2 separate regions of the Homo sapiens genome follow, and region 1 is linked to region 2. The links are contacts of gene promoters, found by promoter capture Hi-C in human tissues and cell types (Jung and others, 2019). All regions are on one chromosome and are shown on one strand. Each heading gives the region's core, a stretch centred on a gene start or on the middle of the fragment in contact. The rest is flanking DNA. Distances are from core to core; before and after follow the strand shown.

Region 1 (3,184 bases), core at 526-3,025, 600 kb before region 2:
CCAGACTCCTCACACAGAGGAGGGGGGCGCTGCAGAATGGGATTTTGTTTCCCTTCCCTCCCCCACTCCTTTCCCCTCTCCACAGGGGCCTCAGTTGAGTACCGGCCTATTTCTTCATCTGACATTCCCCCTGCCCGGCCAGCAGGCGCCGGCATCACGTCTGCAAGTTATTGTTAAGTCCGGCAGGAATGCCCAGGAGGGACGTGCCTCTGGCAGCAGAGTGCCCACTCCCCTCCCAAGATGCGGCTGGCCACTCCTGCACCCTCCACACCCAGTTGGAGAAGAGCGGCGGGTACCCTCAGGGAGGTGGAGGAGTGTAAGAGGCCAGACTCGACTCGGGGAAGGATGCCAGCAGCCCCCTCTACCAAGAGCGAGCCAAGTATGTAAAAGAAAGAGAGAAGGGAGAGCAGGAAGGACAATCCCAGTCTTAATTCCTAGCTCTTCAGCAAGCCAAGGCAGTGGCCCGAGACGCTCAGGGATCCTTCCACAGATGCCTGTGGCCCACCCCATCTGCCAAACACTCACCAGCCCCACAGTGTCCAGCCTCGACATCGGAAACTTTTCAATTCACCCTTCTCCTTCCTCCCCTTTGGGACCAGAGATGTGTGGGGCGGTGCCCTCGGAGACACTCATACAGTTGGTTCTGGACGCTCACACACACTCAAACAACAGCGGTACGAGGTAACTCCCAGCTTTTTCCACAGCTAATTATACATGTGAAAGTCTGAGGATGTTTTGCAAGCAGCACAGAGAAACTGCTGAGGTTTCTCTGCAAAGCTAAAGAAATTTAATTCGTGCACTCTCCTTCCCCACTCCTGCCAACTTCTCCCAGCCCACCTCCACCCCATGGCCCCAAAGTGCCCCTCTCCTAGTTCCCGCTGCAGCCCCTCTTTCTGCTGAAGATTTCTTTGGTTCCTTTTTTTTTTTTTTTTCCATCTCTCTTTTGGGCTTTCGAGAAAGGGAACAGACACGGAAAATATTTTTGCAACAGTTTTCCATCCTGCGTCTCATTCCCAAGCCAAGGGGGGAAGGGGAGGGCAGGAACGGAATGGGTTGAGGGAGGGGAGATAAATATTTTTTCCAAGAGCTCAATTTTGGTGTCAAAAAGAGAACCCTCCATTACCCTACCCCATAGCCCAGGAATGACAAGAACTAGGAAAAGAGAGATAAATCACTTGTTCGACTATATGGTTTCTCAGAACTGATAATAGGTAAAACAGTATTTGACAAATCTGTGCACACACACATATTTTAAAAAAAATCCTCCAAACCCAGTCGCATGAAATATTCTAGAAAGAGGAAAATCGGGGAGTTTTAGAAGCCATTGAGAGAAAAGAAAGAAACAAAGTTTGCAAATCACAAGTCAATTCATTCTCTGCAAGCCTACCTCTCTTTCTAGCAAAGATCCAGGTTTCTTCAGGCGGGACTCTCCCTCCGGGTTTCCATGGATGAGGGTAGGGTGGGGTGACCACCCACCAGTCTCCCCAGTGTGGCAACCAAGCTAGAGACGCTGGCTTTGCTCTCTTGCCTTTCTGGCTAAGGCCGGGGAGTGGGCTGGGTCTCCTCCCCCTGCCCCTCCAATGGGAAGGACCTCTCAGGTTCCTGAAAGAAAAAGGGTGCAGGAGAGCTGGGCGGGTGTCTCTGATCTTGCTCTCTTCGGAGGGATGGTGCCCCACGAAGTTCGTGCCCCCCCTCCCAGCCCCCAGCTTTGGACGATCTCAACAGCAGAGCTTTCTTAAGAAAATGCTTGTCATGGCAACAGCTCTAGCTAACTCGGGCCAGACTCTTGCTCACCAGCTCTCCCCAAGCAGTGCGGGAAGAGAGAGGGGAGGAGCAGGAGCTGGAACAGAGGTGGGACTTGGCGCGAGGCCAAACCATTACTCTACTGTTAAGGTGGCCCGATTCTTGCGGTTACTTCCTGGTTCGTCTTAAGGGGGAATGGGAAAAGAAAGGGAAGCAATCCTCTCCCCTGTCGGCTTTCTTCCCCGCCCTTGCTCTCACTTGTTGAATAGAAAGCTGAGTAGGGGTGGAGGAGGGGTGAGGGTGGAGGTGGGGAGTGGATGTGGGTGGCGGTATTCAACGGTTGCTGGGCGGAGGGGAAAAAAAAGGAAGCTTGGGCAGGCGGCTGGCTTCCTGCAGCTCCTACGGGCCTCTCAACCCCTTACTCACTTAGATCCAGGACCCAGAAACCCGAGGTGTCTGTGGACACTTGTATGTCCCCTCCTACCTTCCTGCTCCTGTCTGAATAGGGGGTTCCTTGGAGAAGGAGAATAAATTGTTTTGTAAACACACACACACACACACACACACACACACACACACACACACACACACCCGTCCTCCCCTACACCTTATATACAGGTCACATTTTGTTCCCTCTTGTCCCTGTACCCACCAGAGGTATACTGACAGTGCATGAAAATAGCTGCTTACTTTTGAGTCCTGCTATGCGTGGGCTATGACACCAAAAGCTTTGTCTATATGGTATCGTTTCTAGTCCTCATTTAATCTTGAAAGGTACTTATTATTAACCTCATTTCCTAGTTGAGGGAATTGAAGATTGAGTGTCTGGCCCAAGGTTATACATCCGGCTAATGACAGAGCCAACGATTCAAGACCAAGTCAGACAGACTCCAAAGCCCGAGTACTTTCCTGTACTTTGTATCATACTCCGGCACATATTTCCGTTTTAATTTGCACACACTCAGACATCCATGCACACTTATACACAGCCTGTAAACAGTTAATCACACCCCCATACCCACACACCCACTAGCATTGTGCAACAGTGCCACCCATAGATTTTGCATAGAACTTTATGGCTTTCAAGCACAAACATGCACCATCAGCTGGTTCACACAACATATCTTCATTGACTGACAGATTCCCACACCTACCTCAGCAAACACACTCATGTTTATATGCTTATGGAAGGCACATTGACATATGTCTCACAGGTTATAGCTATGAGCTATGCTGTGAAGAAGGTGACTGGCCACTACTTCCCAACCTTTTAAACAGAGGGTTGGGAAAAGGCCTCTTTGATCCTATCATTCTAACCCAACAGCTCACACCACCCCCTGTCCTTCTTTGCTGTCATCTCTGCCCCCAAGAAGCAGAGCCACATGTGCATGGAGAAACAGGGTTGTGAAACGGGGTCCAGTTTCCCCCGTGTCCAACTAGC
Region 2 (3,157 bases), core at 303-2,802:
ACGAAGCCTCCTCAAGCCTCAGGACAAAATCTGAGAAAATAACCAAGGGAAATCATTCAAGCTGCCCTTTTGCTTAGGCAGCTTCCCTGGGACTACCTGGCCAGTTAATAGTGGTAGGGGGTGTGTAGGTTGGAGTCTAATTCAGACAGCTGTTTGAAAGCACGTGGACACAGTTCTTTCTTTTTCTAATCCAACAGCAATGTAACAGAATGGGGATGGGCGGTGAGAAGGGTGTTAACAGAATACCTGCTATGTGTGCCTCCTATGTGTACCTTTCAGCTACTCCGTGGCTGTAAATTGCCTTCAGAAGACCTAGCACCGAGCATAGTATCTGGCAGATAGTAGGTGTCCAACAAATGTTTGCTGGATGTTGAGCAAAGTACTAGGTACCAGATCCAAGAACTCTGGAAAGGACTATGGGAAATCCCTGAAACCTGGCTCCTGGAGGGGACCCTTAAGCTCACACCAGGAGGGGATCTCCCTGCGAAGCAGCGCCTCCTTAACCACTTGCTCTCCACACAGAACGGCCCCAACTCTCCTGCTCCTCTGATGGAAACTACCAGCACACCTCTCCTCAAAGGTGACATCAGCTCCTAGTGGCACCTTGTCCTGGATCCCTCCTCCTTCTCGAAGAAAACCACCTACACCATGTCTCCAAGTCCTCCAGCCCGACCTCTCTCTTCCCACCCACCATCAAAACCTCAAAATCTGCGCTGGAAAACATCCCTACTGCGTGGACGTAAGTCAGCGCCCCACTCCCACCCTCCCAGTTCAGGCATCTCTATTCCAGCCCTCTTTTCCTGTTGCGCCCACCCCTGTCCCCACCCCCACCAGGCCTCGGGTTGGCCGCTCCTTCCACCCCACCGCCCTGGCACTGCGGAGATGGGGGCATCTCTGGCACAGACTGAGGCTGGCAGTTCGAGGAATGGAGAGCTAGCGACAGGAACAGGGGTGCTATGAGCAACTCGGGAAAGATTAAGACCCCCGCGAAGAGCGAAGACCTCAGCCCATCAGAATCGCGTCCCCAAAGGAGTGGGGTTGGCCCCGGAGCCGAGAGGCGCTTTTTCTGACTCTCCTGGAGGGGAAATGGGGGCGCAGTCTGCTCCGTTCCCACCGGGAGACTCGCCAACTCGGCCCCCTCCCCTGAAGCCGATGGAGCAGAGGGCGCACTCCACGCCCTCCCCGCAGATCAGGCATCGCCCCTATCCTCACCCCCAAGGGCACAGGGCACCGCAAAGGAGGGCGAGGGGCGGCAGGGTAAGCAGTACCGACGCCTGCCGGAGGTAGCACATACGGAGTCAAAAAGGGCTGTTTCCCGAGGTGCGATAGACGAGACCCCTCCCCAAACTGTCGAGGGGAGCTGGAGATGGGGAAAAGACGCATCCTACCCCAGTCCAGGCTCTGGGCGCTCACCTGCCTGCAAATGCCGAAGGCCAGGCGGCTAGGCTCGGAAGCAGCAGGGAGCCGCCCCCGACCCGTGCAGCCCGACACGTCCTAGAGCCGAGCCGGCGCCGAGGTAGCTGCAGCCTCCGCCGCCCAAGCGCGCGGCCGCGGGGCCCCGCCCCCTTCCTCCGCGGACAACCCCCCCCGGCTCCGCCCCCTAGGCGGGGCTGGGCTGCCGCGACCGAGGCCACGCCTCCCGCCCCCAAGCGCCTCGGGTCCGGGCACGTGACGAGAGCGCCGCTTTGAGGCCGCGCGCCATCTTGGTTCAGCCTAGGAGGTGGCGAAGTGCCAGAGTTTTATTCCGCAGAAGGGTCTCAGGGCCCAGGAGTGCTGCCCACATTCTGCCCCTCCCTCTGAACTCGCCCTTGTTCCTAGTCTAACAGCCCGTTCCCTAAATTGGCCTTAGTCTCGGCCTTGTAATTGTCAAGTTTGTCACCTTTCACGCTTGCTCTCCTGCCCGTTCCTTGCTTTTCCTTTGATCGCACCCATTTTTTAAGTGGGGAAACTTGATATCCGGATACTACATCTGTAGTATGCTCTTCAGTGAATTGTGTCGCTTGCCTTCAGGCACCTGGCTGTTCTAACACTGTTACTACAAAATGAAGGGTTTGTCTATTACATATACATAGTATGAAAACAAGTCTCAAATGCCAAAATTCCTGACTGACAAATTTTAGCTAAGCCTCTCCATTTTCCTGAATTGCTCCCTTACCCTGCCCCCTGTGGCTATTAATGCATCTTTTCCATCTGCTTTGTGAAGTTTCATCACAGTGCCTACTCAATCCTTTACCAATACCCAGTAAGCACCACTAAAAGTGTGAACAATTTTTATATACATGCAATGTGTTCATGTGTGTGTATTTATAGATATATACACAGCATGTTCTATATCAGCAGCAAATGCTATAGTTGAGATCAGTGACACATACAACCTTCTCTCATTTATCTTCCACCCAATATATTCACCATTTGGCATAATTTCCTTGCGTCTCTTTGAAGACAGGGAAATCTTGAGTAATTCTGATCTGAGGGGTGGGTAAGTGAAGCTAAATCTGTGACCCTTGAACAACAGGGCCTTCAACTGCACAGGGCCAGTTGCATGCAGATTTTCTTCCTTCCCCGCCACCCCTGAGACAGCAAGACTACCCCTCCTCTTCTTACTCGTCAGCCTGCTCAACATGATGACCCACTTAATGAACAGTAAATGTATTTTCTCTTCTTTGATTTTCTTAATAACATTTTCTTTTCTCGAGCTTATTATAATAAGGTATATACTACATATACAAAATGCACATTAATCAACTGTTTATGTTATCAATAAGGCTTCCAGTCAACAGTAGGCTATTAAGTTTTCGGGCAGTCAAAAGTCATAGCAGATTTTCAACTGTGTGAGGGTCTGTGTCCATAACTCTCACAGCGTTCAAGGATCAATTTATGTTGCTTGACAGAGCAAAATCACAGTATATAACCTGTAGTCCAGAAAGTTCTAATTCTTCTTCGGGTGGTCTGGGGTCCTCACCAAAAGGAAATCCCTGAGACACTTCACATCCTGTCACTAATAAAGCATGTATCATGCTAGAAACGGCAACTCAGCCAATGCAGAGGAAGGCTGAAGCCAAGATAACGACTGGTAACACATTTTACCAAATGTTTGTCAATATTATGCTGAGAGAGAGCTGAGGCAGTATCTAGTACTGTATCTGTCACCATACCA

Evidence for each region. Contacts are between HindIII fragments. The study calls those that stand out against the background at their distance.
Region 1: a contact is called between the fragment with the promoter of ATP2B4 here and the fragment with the promoter of PPFIA4 in region 2, in 2 of the 25 tissues and cell types used here (lymphoblastoid cells and thymus).

The regions. Positions count from the first base shown.
Region 1 is chr1:203,625,423-203,628,606 of GRCh38, reverse strand. It overlaps ATP2B4 (ATPase plasma membrane Ca2+ transporting 4), which reads right to left and starts at 1,775. Exons shown (of 21, transcript NM_001684.5): 1 at 1,388-1,775. RefSeq lists enhancers at 1,034-1,906, 1,907-2,781. The HindIII fragment of the contact is 18,846 bases long and covers 1-2,292 here.
Region 2 is chr1:203,024,886-203,028,042 of GRCh38, reverse strand. It overlaps PPFIA4 (PPFI scaffold protein A4), which reads right to left and starts at 1,552. Exons shown (of 30, transcript NM_001304331.2): 1 at 1,414-1,552. RefSeq lists an enhancer at 1,105-1,626 and a silencer at 1,453-1,762. The HindIII fragment of the contact is 14,289 bases long and covers 1-3,157 here.